Regions from separate parts of the Homo sapiens genome. Here region 1 is linked to region 2. The links are contacts of gene promoters, found by promoter capture Hi-C in human tissues and cell types (Jung and others, 2019). All regions are on one chromosome and are shown on one strand. The core of a region is centred on a gene start or on the middle of the fragment in contact, and the rest is flanking DNA. Distances in the headings are between cores, read along the strand shown.

The links. The method cuts DNA at HindIII sites, captures the fragments that hold promoters and counts their contacts. A contact is called where the count stands out against the background at its distance.
Region 1: a contact is called between a fragment that was not itself captured here and the fragment with the promoter of JAKMIP1 in region 2, in 2 of the 25 tissues and cell types used here (dorsolateral prefrontal cortex and mesendoderm cells).

The regions. Positions count from the first base shown.
Region 1 is chr4:5,997,616-6,004,721 of GRCh38, reverse strand. The region is part of intron 3 of C4orf50 (chromosome 4 open reading frame 50); the gene reads left to right. Among named protein-coding and RNA genes, the nearest start is that of C4orf50, 17 kb to the left of the region's middle. The HindIII fragment of the contact is 5,514 bases long and covers 1,461-6,974 here.
Region 2 is chr4:6,199,209-6,206,008 of GRCh38, reverse strand. JAKMIP1 (janus kinase and microtubule interacting protein 1) reads left to right here and starts at 5,460. Exons shown (of 21, transcript NM_001099433.2): 1 at 5,460-5,756. JAKMIP1-DT (JAKMIP1 divergent transcript) reads right to left here and starts at 5,276. Exons shown (of 4, transcript NR_037863.1): 1 at 5,070-5,276. RefSeq lists enhancers at 73-142, 3,893-3,942 and silencers at 5,045-5,804, 6,075-6,424. The HindIII fragment of the contact is 28,205 bases long and covers 1-6,800 here.

The sequences.
Region 1 (7,106 bases), core at 2,968-5,467, 200 kb after region 2:
CACATCATCACCACCATCACCATTATCACCATCACCACCACCATCAACATCACCATCACATCATCACCATAATCACCATCACCATCACAGTCACCATCACCATCACCACCACATCATCACCATCACCATCATCACCAACATCACCATCACCATGACCACCATCACCATCATCACCATTACCACCCTCATCACTATCACCATCACCATTGCCACCCTCCTCCTCATCTCTTCCTGGGCTTGTGCTCATCTCATCACCATCACCATCATCACCATTACCATCACATCATCACCACCATCACCATCATCACCAACATCTCCATCACCATCACCACCATCACCATCATCACCATCACCATCATCACCATCACCGTCATCATCACCATCACCATCATCACCATTACGATCACATCATCACCACCATCACCATCATCACCAACATCACCATCACCATCACCACCATCACCATCACCATCATCACCATCATCATCACCATCACATCATCACCATCACCATCATCACCATCACCATCATCACCATCACCATCATCACCATCATCACTATCATCACCATCACCATCATCACCATCACCATCATCACTATCACCATCATCACCATCACCATCATCACCATCATCACTATCACATCATCACCATCACCATCATCACCATCATCACCATCACCATCATCACTATCACATTATCACCATCACATCATCACCATCACCATCATCACCATCATCACTATCATCGCCATCACATCATCACCATCACCATCATCACCATCACCATCATCACCATCACCACCATCATCAACATCACCATCACATCATCACCATAATCACCATCACCATCATCACCATCACCATCATCACCATCATCACTATCACATCATCACCATCACCATCATCACCATCATCACCATCACCATCATCACCATCACCATCATCACCATCATCACTATCACATCATCACCATCACCACTATCATCACCATCACCATCATCACCATCACATCATCACCATCACTATCATCACCATCATCACTATCATCACCATCACCATCATCACCATCATCACTATCACATCATCACCGTCATCACCACCATCACCATCATCACCATCACCACCATCAACATCACCATCACATCATCACCATAATCACCATCACCATCACAGTCACCATCACCATCACCACCACATCATCATCACCATCACCATCATCACCAACATCACCATCACCATGACCACCATCACCATCATCACCATTACCACCCTCATCACTATCACCATCACCATTGCCACCCTCCTCCTCATCTCTTCCTGGGCTTGTGCTCATCTAGTAGGATGTTGGGTAAATCACCCTCACTACCTACACTGTAATTTTCTCTCTCTTGACTTTTTATTTATTTTTCCTGAGGGCTTATCCTGGACTGGAACAGTTTAGATGTGAGTGTAATTTGTCACCATTGAGCTGCCTGAATGGCTGGTGGGAGCTCAGGCCAACATGTCCCTAGGGTGGATGGGGCCTGCGGTTACCAGCTCCTGTGTCCCAGCAGCCTGTGGATGGGCTGGGGAGACTCAGAGAACTGCAGTGGCCTTGTGCAAAGGGCCATCTGGGGACGGCTGTCTGGGCCAAGGAGCTGAGAGCCTTTACCTAGGTCTGCTGCAGGGCAGAGCAGGTGGGTGAAGCCCCCTGTCTGGCAGAAGACCTGGGATGTGAGAGGAGGTGAGGGGAAGGGGCTGGCTTTCATCTTGGGAGCTGCCCATCTGTTACTCACTTAATCCTCAAGCGACATGGCCAGGTAGGTGTCCTCCTGTCTGCTTCATAGAGGAGGCAGAAGGCTCAGAGATGCAGTGTCCTGTCCAGGGTCACACAACCAAGGAGTGAGGCCCCGATGTAATTCCCATTCCCTGCCTTTCCTTTCATATCCACCCAGCCTCTTGGGCTGGGAGTTTCCCAGAGGCAGCGGTGGGTGCTCATGCAGCTGAGAGCCGCCCTCCAAGGACATGAGGATGGCACCAGCAGCGACCCTGAGTCAGGCTGCCAGGGATCTGAGCCCACCTGGTGGGGGGAAGCTCTGGGGCAGGAGAGCATTGTCTGAGTGGGCAGGAGGGGCCCCAGCCAGCCACAGGCCTAGGGACAGAGTGACAGCAGCAGGCAAGGTGTTCCCAGCTGGTTTGGAGCTAGCTGCTGCAGGTAAGGGCCAGATCACCTGGGGTATTCCCGGGGCTGCAGGTTGGGCCTTGAGGAAACAGGCAAGGCACAGCATGTTATTTTCCTGGGGCTGCTGTAACAAAGTACCTCAAACCTGCTGACTTAAAACGGCAGACATTTATTCTCTCCTAGGTCTGGGAGCCAGAAGTCGGAAATCAAGGTGGCAGTGGGGCCATGCTTCCTCCTGAGGCTCTAGGGGACAGTCTGCTCCTTGCCACACCCAGCTTCTGGTGGCTCCTGGCAATCTTTGACTTGCAGACGCATCACTCTGATTTCTGCCTCCATTTTCTCTTGGCCTCTTTCCTCTGTGTGTCTGTTTCTGTGTCTCTTCTCTTCTTATCTGGACACCAGATCTTTATTGGATTAGGACCCAGCCTAATCCAGTATGGCCTCACCTTAATTTGATCACATCTGCAAAAACACTATTTTCAACTAAGGCCACACTCTCAGGTACTATTTCTTTTGGGAAGGCACAATTCAACCCACTCCACAAAGTTATGTGGCAGATGACGGCTTATGGTCTCTTCTCCTCCTCCAGGTATTCCCTGACCCCAGGAGCCTCTTTTGTCCTCCCAGGGCCCTCACATGCATGGCTGTCAGTGCTGGGCTGAGCCTCCCAAGGGCAGGGCTGGGGCTGGGTGTGCTCTGCCTTCCCGGTGTTTGCTGAGTGCCGCAGGCACACTGACATGCTATACATTTATTTATTCATTCATTTACTTCAGCCAAAACATGCATCTTGCAAGACAGGCACTGTCCTCTTTATTTTCTGCTGCATTCCCAGCACTAGCACAGTCCTTGGCACAGAAGAGGTGCTGGGTGAATATTTATTAAGTAAAAGGAGGAAGGAGGGAAGATAGCACTGACTCTCTGTTATCAGAGCCTGTGTGGGTTGAGGCCCCTTTTCAGCCCTGTGAGGCGGCAAGCAGATGATCTGGCTTCTTGGCTCGTTTAGGACACTAGTTTCTTGGGACATGCCATCTCCCCTGTGGATTTCTACTGGATGAGAAATAGCGGTAATTGTCTCCCTGGTGGTGTCAGAGGGAAGAACCCAAGAGACCGTGATTGCAGGAACCCGCTGAACAAACGCTGGATAACATTCTCAGCATAAAATATCATGGAACACGAACTCCTGACCTAAAGTGACCAGCCTGTCCAACATGGTGAAACCCTGTCTCTACTAAAAATACAAAAATTATCTGGGCATGGTGGCATGCGCCTGTAATCCCAGCTACTCGGGAGGCTGAGGCAGGAGAATCGCTTGAACTCTTGGGGGCAGAGGTTGCAGTGAGCTGAGATCGCGCCATTGCACTCCAGCCTGGCAGAACGAGACTCTGTCTCAAAAAATAAAAGAAAAAAATGTCATTGGGTAATCACTGATTCTGCCTTCCAGCAGTCTAAAACCATGGCCCTTGAAAAACCAGGTTAGGAGAATTTCGACTAGCAAGAGGCTTGCTTTGGCTGTGTGTGTGTATCCATTTTATCATGGCTTTTGTGTTTCTGGTATCACTTGCTCTAACTTCCGGTGGAGGTGGGCTCTCCTGCCACTTACCGATGGGTTGCCCTTGGAGGGGACTCAGCACCGCTTCCTAATAACATCCCTTTGGGGATATGGGTTTTAACGGATGAGTTTTGGGGGGACATGAAAATTCAGACGGTAATATGGTGGGACCAGGATTTGCCCTTTGGTGAGCTGATCCCATAGCTGTGTCGCACGCCCTGTTTCTTCAGTAAATACTGGTCAACAGGTCAACAGTCAGGATTTGATGGTACCCACTTGGTGCGTGTGCTTGGCTCCAGTCTGAGCTCAGTACAGGGGCTGGGGAGTGAGACAAGACCCTGCCCCACAGGATGACAAAACAGATTGGGTGAAGGAGGTAGGGGCAGAGGAAAGGCAAGGAAATGAGCCCTGTGGAGTCCGTGGGTCACTGGGGGAGGACCCTGGTGTTGCAGTGGGGGCTGGACCCAGGCTGCAGCATGTGACAAGGCTGCCAGTCTCTGTCCATCTCTCAGAAGGAAGCTGATGGCCCACAAACAGCATCTTGAGGTCAAAAAGGGCTGCCTGGAAAGGAAGAATTCCTCCTGAGAGGGCCACTGGGAAATGTGAAGAGCTAGCCAGCCACCAGCTCTCAGGTTGAATGCAGCCTGGAATTTATAAATTAAAGTGTTAGAACCCATCGATAAGGAACTGCAAAGCCAGATGCGGCTCTTCATGTCTTGGTGGAAATTGCATGAGCCTCAGTGGCCATGGCTGTGGCTTCCAGGCCTCTGCACATCTGTGAAGTCGCAGAGTCCAGAGAGCATCGCATGCTGTGTGACTGCCCAAGGCTGCCAGTGCATCTTCAAAGGACTGGGAGTGACCCAGGAGGACCGAGAGCCACACGCAGGTCTTCAGCACCTTGCTCTGGACAACAGTGGTGACTGTCAAAGGATCTCCCTCCATAAGCACCCCACCATGGCTGCCCACGGCCTCAGGATCAAGTTCAACCTCCTATCCACGGCATTCAAGGCCCCCGGTGTTCTGCTCCTTCAAGCTCAGTCCCCCATATGCCACCTTAGTCACACTGAGCTGCAGGTCCCTGAGTGTGCCAGGCTCTTCTGCCTTGTAAGCCTTGCCTGTGTCTGGAAGCTTCTAGTGCCCACCCCCACTCAGGCTGTTGGAAAGCCTTGCTACTTTCTCTTTATTTGTTGGGAATGTTGCTTTCTCTGGAAGACTTCCCTGATCTCACGTCAGCTCAGTGCCCCCGAGGTGACATGAGCCACCTCTGGTGGCCCTGATGTTCACTGTGCCCAGATGCCCACTCCCTCAGCTGTGTGCCCCTCATCATCAAAAACTGGTTCACTTTAGCTCTATTCCCAGTCCCTGGCCACCAGCTGTGAAATGCTTGATGAGTGAGTGCCTTGAGGCATCGGTGAAGTTATTTGCTCCACTGCCCACGGGAAAAGGAAGCTTCTGGCTGAAGGGACTGCTTCACAGTGGCAATGCTGGGAAGTGAGGCATAGAAATGGGGAAATGGTGGGGAGGGTCTAGTCCCAGAGATGTGTACCACAGATAGAAAATCATCACGAAAGCCGACTTTCATCAACTTTTGGAGTGCTTATTGCCTGCCCAGCGTGGTAATGTGTTGCGTTCCCCACAACAAGCTTATGAGGTGGTAGAGTTATGGATTCTCATTTTGCAGAGGAGAACACTGAGGAAGGGAGGTAAAGTCACTTGCCCAAGGAAGTGGAAGCAGCAGTATCTGAAAGGAGGCACAGGCTTGGCCCCACCTGCAGTGACCCCTTGGCTATGTCTGATGTGCTCTGGGAGCCATGGTGTGAACTATGGCAAAGGCAGTCATTATAAAAGTGTGTTTCCTTTGCTTCATATTCACAAAGCACTTTCCTAAACAGGAACTCATGAACTCTGCAAGGTAGCCGGGGCAGTGCCCTATCCACAAACCTGTAGTCTGGAGGATTCCCGTAACTTGCCTGGGGTCATATGCTTCCTCCCGAGGTCACATGTTTTAGAGCAAGTTACTTGGAACCTTGATCCCCAGAGGAACGGACCACTGCAAGGACAAACCCTGATGTGGGGAGGAGTTTGGGGACAGGGTTTCTGCTCAGGGTAAAAGGAAGTAAGAACCATTCATATTTGGCAAGACAAACGTGGTTTATCTGCAGATGGGTCTGAATGCTTTCCCATGAGTGTGCACTGGGCACCTGCCATGTCCCAGGTGCAGTGAGCCAGGCATGAACCTTGCCCTCCAAAAGCTTATAGAGGAGACAGACACAGGTGCAAACCATGACACTACAGTGATGCTACGGCAGAGGGCAGCACAGGGCTGTGCCTGGCCTGGAGGGTCCCAGAGATGCTCGTGCAGAGAGATGAAAAGCCAGGCTCTTAAAAAGTCCTTGTCCACTGTCATCCCAGAGCTGAGATCACGATCCCACGTCAGGGGCTTCAGGAGTGACTGGATGATCCCGCCAGCCTCTATGCCCTGGCAGTGTGCGTAGAGTGACCCCTGGTGGCAGCTACGTGAATCTCTTTGTTGCTGGGTGAATTGCAGGCAGCCTTGCTCACTGCTTGCTTTTGTGCAGAGCAGGGTATTACACATTTGTTTCTCTCTCCAGCAGCAAGCAAGAGCTTTTAAAAAAAAAGCAGTGTCAATAATGTCGAAAAATAAAATAGGCAAAAGGGATGAACATGCAAATAATGTAAAAGGAAGTACAAAATGGCCAGTGGTCTTAATAAAAAAATATGGACAGCTCCATTAGTTAAAAAATAACGCCAGTGAGAAAAATCTCAGGATCCCGTTTTCTTCTGTACATCTGTCAAAGGTTAAAAGGGCCTGCAGCCGTGTGGTGTTTGAGCTATCAGGAGTATAAATGAACATATCCCTTTGGAAGGGCTGTCAAGCAGTAAGTATTAAATGCCTTTAAAAAAGGTTTATGCCTGAGTCTCAGCCATTTGACTTCCACAAATATATCCAAAAAGTGATTGGAGGTGCAGAAGAGTCATGTACAGTCATGTTTATCTCAGCTCTGCTTATAGTTGGTAAAAATTCGTAACAACCCAACTGTCCAATAAGAGGGAATTGATTTGATCTGGAACTATCTCCCTTTTTTCCTCTCCCTTATAGCAGAGAATATTAGTTAGCTATAAAAACCACACTGCAGAAGATCCTGTAGAGAAATGATCCTTCTATATCATTAAATGCAAAATTCACAAAGTAAAAATTTACATTTTGTATAAATAGAACTTTCGCAATGTCTATGCATAGGAAAATGTCTAGGCATAGAAAAAAGCCCAGAAGGGCCTCTAACACATTCATGTTTATGCCCGGATATCCTGATATTTCTCATTTTCTTCTTTTTGCTTATAATTGCACATGAAAGCTGAGTCCAGATTAAGTT
Region 2 (6,800 bases), core at 4,211-6,710:
CCACATCCTGGAAACTGTGATATGGGAACTCATTTGGAAAAAGAGTCTTTGCAGGTATGATTAAGTTAGGGAGCTTGAGAAGAGATCCTCCTGGGTTATCTGGGTGAGTCCTCCATCCAATGACATCCTTATAAAAGACACTCACACAAAGAGGAGGAAGCCGTGTAATACAGAGGCAGAGACTGGAGTGATGCGGCCGCAAGCCAAGGAAGTCCTGGAGCCACCGGGAGCTGGAAGAGGCCAAGAAGGATCCTCTCCTAGAGCCTCTAGGGGAAGCACAGCCCTGCCAACACCCTGACTGTGGACTCTGGCCAGGCATAACTGTGAGAAAATAAATGTCTGTTGTTTCAGGCCTCCCAGTCTGTGATACTGTATTAGGGCAGCCCAGGAAACAAACCCAGAGTCACATATATTCACTCACTGAATCCCCACCCAAACCTATGCAGTTATTATGATTAAAAGATTAATCTTACAGATAAGGAAACTAAAGGTTCACTTACTTGCCTAAGGTCACCATGGGTACCTGACACAGCTGGAATTTAATCCCAGCAGCCCAGCCCTGCAGTGGTGGTGGTGACCACACTCTACTCTGCAAGAGCAGCAGGAACTGAAGTTTCTTTCCACCATCTTTGCAAGTGACCAGCCCATCACAGGTGTTGGGTGCTCACAGCTTCCCAGAGAGGAGCCCCTCTGATGAGAATGTTTGTCTTTATAGGGAGCTGAAACCTGCCTCTCTACCACTTCCAGGGCTCAGGGCACTTCCTCCCTACCACTTGTGGGCTCAGGGCACACGGGGCGGGGAAAGCAGCTTTGGCTTCGGAAGACTCGTGGCTTCCATGCTGCTTGCTGTGAGTGAGCCCCTGGGCCCCAACCTCTCGTCCCTAATAGGGAGATCTTGGTGGTACCTGACCCCCTGCCCCATAGGTCGTCCTGAGGGTTATGTAGTGACCACGTGGTGGCAGCGGGGGTGAATTCCTTGTGAAGCTAAGTACAGACCCTTCCAAGGCCTGGGAGAGCCAGAGCTCTGGGTTCATGTGGCCTTGTGTTTGGAAATACTTTCCAAAAGCAAGATATTTTAGCTGTAACTGGCTAAGCTGGCTGCCAGGGTTTCCAAGACAGGGTTCCACAGACTGAAGAGCTTTAACAACAGAAACTTATTTTTCACAGTTCAGGAGGCTTCAAGTCTGAGACCAAGGTGTTGGTTTCCTCCAAGTCCCCTCTCCTTGGCTTGCAGATGGCCATCTTCTCACTGTGTCTCCACAGGGGCTTCCTTCTGTGTCTTAATCTCTTCTTATAAGGACACCAGGCATATTGCATTAGGTCCCACCCTAAAGACCTCATTTAAGCTCAGTGACCTCTTTAAAGGTCCTATCACCAAATACAGTCACATTCTGAGCTCCTGGGGGTTAGGGCTTCAGCACTCAAGTTCTGGAGGACACAATCCAACCCATAATACCCTCTGTCTCTTTCCCTATGCCGCCCTCATCATGCTTCCTCCCACTTCGGAGCTGCTGCGGAGGCCAAGGGCATTTTGGGGATGTAGCTGAAGGGGGATTGAGTTGGGGATGCCTTGGTTTGGGTTTAGTGGGGTGTGTTTATGTAGGTCTGAGCCAGTCTGTGTGGGTCGAGTTGTTGCTCCCTGAACAGGCTAATGGCTCCCAGGAGTGCCCTCCTTGCCATGGCACTGGCAATGTGTGCTATGGTGCCTGGCACCAGGAGTCTATGGGCAGAGGAAGAGACATAAGGGTTGAAAATGTCATTCTTCCAATAGGAGAGGTCTGGATTTGCAGACCCTCAGAGTCACAAGGCAACTGGGGGTGTCGCATAGCCCAGGACTGCTCAGCAGGAGTCACCTGGGGCATTTAGTAAAATGCTGATTCCTAGACCCTGCTACTCTGAGGCTTCAATTCAGTGGGATGTGGAGGAGCCTGGGCATCTGCATTTCTCCTATGCCTCTCCAGGTGATGGGCGCCAGCACTGAGGTTTAGGAGGTGTTAGTCGAGTCATGTTCTGGTTTGCAATTGTTCAGTTGCTTTTCATCATGAAAATTAATAAAATCCCAGTAAGAAGCCTGGAAGAAATAGAATTCTTCCAAGTGTTAGCATTCATTTATGAAAGAATGATAGACCTTTCTCCAAATTTGAAAACAATCTCAAAAAACTACCTGAGATTACCAATAATGAGTTATGAGGCTGACAAAGTTTTCCAACCAACATTAAAATTTGTTCCCATCATTATAGGAGTACTCTGAATTATCTATTTTCTCCACAGGAAAAATATTATAAAATCATTGGCTTCCAAAGAGGTAATCAAAAATGACGAAGAAGCAAAAAATGTAAAAAAAAGAAGATATTATAAAGGTGGATATCAGGTATCCAATTAATACAATTTTATATTAGTTTTATAATGTTTTCGCAACGTTTTTGATATTTGTCAACTTAAAATATTTTAAAATTTGTTGTGATTTGTTATTATTCTAAATAAGTTTTCATTTTTGTACCAAGTCTTGTACTGGGGTTTTTAAATTCTTCTTCCTAAGGGGGACTGTAGCGGCTCCAGGTTTTACAAAACCTGGATCTACTAACCAATAGTTGCCTGTTCAAAAGTCATTCTTCTTCTTTTCCTCACTAATGGAACCCTGACTTTGTTTCAGGCAGCAATGTACCTTCAATTAAAAAAAAACATCCTTGGCCGGGCGTGGTGGCTCACACCTGTAATTCCAGCATTTTGGGAGGCCAAGGTGGGTGGATCACCTGAGGTCTGCAGTTTGAGACCAGCTTGGCCAACATGGCAAAACTCCATCTCTACTAAAAATACAAAAATTAGCTGGGTGTGGTGGTGTGGGCCTGTAATCCCAGCTACTTGAGAGGCTGAGGCAGGAGAATCACTTGAACCCGGGAGGCGGAGGTTGCAATGAGCCAAGATCACGCCATTGCACTCCAAACTGGACAACAGAGCAAGACACCATCTTAAAAAATAATAACAATACTCCCAGCCTCCTCTGAAGCCAGGGCTGGCCATGAGACACCGTCCCAGCCAATGAGATAAAACAGAGCTCTCTGGGGAGAGTTTTCAGGAAAGCGGTGAAGTGGAGCTGACCTAGTGTGGGTATGCCTTTTGTTCTTCCCCTTCTTGACTGGAATAGTGATGAGATGTCTGGGAAGAGGCAGCCAACTTGCCACGTAGAAGACATTTTGAAAAAGAAAATTACATCCTGAGGGTGAAGGAGTGAGAGAGGATAAAGTGAGGAACAGCTTGCCTTTGCATTTCTTGTTAAGAGAGAATAAAAATCTGTTTAAGCCGCTGTCTAGTTGTGATCCCGATTACTCACAGCCAGACATAACCCTTAATCTACACACATGTATCGAAGTACCACCAGCTGGGCTTTTTAAACAACAGAAATGCACTGTCTCACTTCTGTAAGCTAGAAGTCTGAAATCAGGTGTCAGCTGGTCCACGCTCCCTATGAAGCCCTGGGGAAGGATCTGTCCCAGGCCGCTCTCATGGCTTCCGGGGGTTTGCTCCCATCTTTGGCATTTCCTTGGCTAGCTGATGCCTCGACCTGATCTCTACCTTCATGTTCACACGGCATGCTCCCGTTGCTTGTGTCTCTGTATCCAATTTCCCCCTTTTATAAGGATAGAAGGCAGACTGGATTAGGAATCCAACCTACTCCATTGTGACCTCATCTTAGCTAATTACATCTACAACGACCCTATTTCCAAGTAAGGTCATATTCTGAGGTCCTGGGAGTGAGCACTTCAACATACGAGTTTTTTTTTTTGAGGGGGTGGGTGGGGGGAACACAATTCATCCCAGGATACCTGGGCATTGTCCCTGATTGTCCCTCCCTCCCTCCTGTCCACGTCCAAGCCGTGAGCATGTCCTGCCAATTCTGCACCCAGATTGCTCTGATGCGCTGATACTTCACTGTATCAGCGTGGAGGAGGCCCCCACACTGCCTCCTTGTCCCCACTCTTGACTACTTCAGCCCATGCCCCAAGGGCAGCCAGGGCATCTGCTAAAGATAGTCTCACATCTGCTCACAGATATCCTAGTTCCTCCTGACCCCCTGAACCTTAGAGGTCTGCACTTCCTCCTCTTCTGAAGTTAGGCATGGCCATGTGACCTGCTCTGGCCAATGAAACGTGAGCAGAAGTGACGAGAGTCCCTTCGGGGAGGAAGCCTTCAAAGCCAGCATAATTGTCACCTTTCATTCACATTGCTGCACCATGTGGGTGCTCGGCTGGCAGACAGCCCCAGCAGCTTGGGCTCCCAACCACTCTGATGAACAGAGCCCCATTGACCGAGGCAGGATGTATGATGTGGGCAAGACACACCAGGGAGATTTGGGTTTGGTTGTTACTGTGGCTAACATAGCTTATCCTGACTGATGCACTTTAAAAAATATCAATCTGACAATGGTCCATGGGACCACCTTCCAGGTGAGACAGTCTCCAAACTCTCGCCAGCCTGCAAGACCTTGCAAGTGCTGCCCCTCTGTGCCCCCGCCCCCCATCTTCCACACACTCCCTCTCACCATTCTGTGGCCCAGATACTTTTATCAGATTCTCAAATATGTCCCGTTCACAGCAGTCAGGGTGTTCCCCCATGCTGCTCCCTTTGGTGGGTGCTCTTCCCTGCCTTCTCCTTGCTAGAAAGTAAGCTCTGGTGGGCAGCCGCTTCCTCTCTGCTGTTCACTGTGGTGTCCCCACATCTTAGTGACTACCTGGCACACAGCAAGTGCTCAATAAATATTTGTCTAATGACACTGAATGAATGTTTGCCCAGCTGAGTCCTGCCCCTCCCAAGTCTCAGCTCGACAGCACATCTTTCATTTGGCTATGACCTGCTGATGTGGCTTTGCTGGGGGCAGCCTGGGCTGGTGGGGGGAGGCTCCCTAGGCTGGCATCCGCCCAGCTCTGCCGCTTGCTGGCTCTGCCGCCGTTAGCGTGCGCTTTAACCTCTGACCTTCAGACCTCTCATGCGTACAGAGGGGGACATGGATCTCCGGGGTCGCTGCGTCTTCCTGACCACTGACGGCCAGGACGGCCCCAGCCCCGCTTTACCTGCAAGCCCCACTCCAGGCTCGAGCCCCCGAGGGCAGGGATAGCTTCCCGGGTCCCGAGGCTTGACCAGAGCCTGAAAGCTCCTGCCGGGGGTTGCTCCGACTCAGCGAGGCGCCAGGCTGCCCGGCGCGGCTGGGGGCGCTCAGCGCCGGGACCCCAGCCCTGCCCCGGCCGCCCGCTGGCCCAGTGCGCACGCTCCGGCAGCTCAGCTCCCCCTCCCACGGCGGCAGGAGAGCTCCCGGCATCTGCCCGGGGCGGGGGCGGGGGCGGGGCGGGGCGGGCGCCGCGCCCTCCTGCCTGACTGGCAGGAAGACAGACCAATCGGAGGGGCTCCCCGGGGGGAGGGGCGGTGCCGTGCCTGAGCCGGGCGCGGGCGACCGAGGGAGCTGCAGCCACCCGCGTGCGGCACGCGCCGGCCGCCTGCCCGGATCGCGGCCACCAGTGCCGCGGCCTCTCGACTCCCGCCCCGCCGAGCCGCGCGCGCGACTGCCATCCTCCTCAATTGCTTTTTACGATTTTTTTTGTGCATGCATTCATTTTCTGTTCCGTTTTGTCCTTTTTAAGGCGGTGGCGGCGGCGACAGCGGCGTAAGCTCGCAGCGGGGAGGGGGCGGCCGGAGGATGCGGCGCGGGGCTGCGCTCGCTACGTCCGCTGCTGCTGCCCGGCTCGGGCCTGAGCGCCGAGCAGGTGGGTACAGGTGCGCCGGGGGGCGGGAGGCGAGCGCTGGCCAGAGGGAACCCGTGGACCCGGCGACCGAGGGGCGGACCTGGCGGCAAGGGACGCGGCGACCGGTGCCGCCCCGCCCCATCGTCCATCTCCCCCTCCTCCGGCCATCGCGCCCCCTCTGGGTCCCCCTTCCACTCTCGCATCCCACCTCAGTGGTCCCCCACCCTTCCATACCCATCCCCCACTCCTCTTCAGACCCCCTTGCAAAATCTCCCAGCCGCTGCGTCGCTTCCCCCAACACCCCCTCCCGGTCCCGCCCCCAGCCCCCAGCTCTCCTTCACGCCACCCCTATTTCCACTCTTCTCCGGATTCCGCCCTCAAGCCAAGGAGCGGGAGGGGGACCCACCCGGTGCCTGCCGGAGTGGCGCGGGGGGTGTGGCCGGCCCGTCCCCTCCGTGTCTTCCGCAGGGTAGGTCACAGTCCCCCAGATCTCCGCCCAGGTGGCAAAGAAGATGGAGCTGGGGGCCGCGCCCCGGCGGCGCGGGGCCCGAAGGCGAGGCCGCCCAGCCCGCACCCCACCCCACGCACGGCACACGCCGCCGCGGCCCCTGCCACGCACACCCTCGCGCTGCTCCGCCCACGTGGGCGCCGGGGAGGAGGCTCGAGAGATGGGAAGAAAGGCTGGCACCCACCCTCCTGCCGGGCCGGCGCGCCCTGGGCGCACTGGCCTCCGGAGATGGCGCGCAAGGATTGACTCTCGTGGTGCCAGACACCTTGCCGGGCGCCCTGCGTCGGGGCCAGCGGCCTCGCTGGCCTGCGTCAGTGCGCTGCGGCCTCGCCTCCCAGCCCCTCGGTCCTTCGCTCCATCCCCCCTGCTGTGGGCTCCTGAGCATCCGGCCTGGGCAGCCCAGATAGAGGCCGCTTACGAGGCTGGCGCTTCTTTTCGCCTTAGAAGCATCCCGCTCCCACACACCCCAGCTCGCCGGTCTCCTGAAGGCTGGGCCAGCCTCGGCTCTCCGCCAGCCTCTGCCCGGCTCTCTGAGCTCCAGCGATACTGTATCTAAC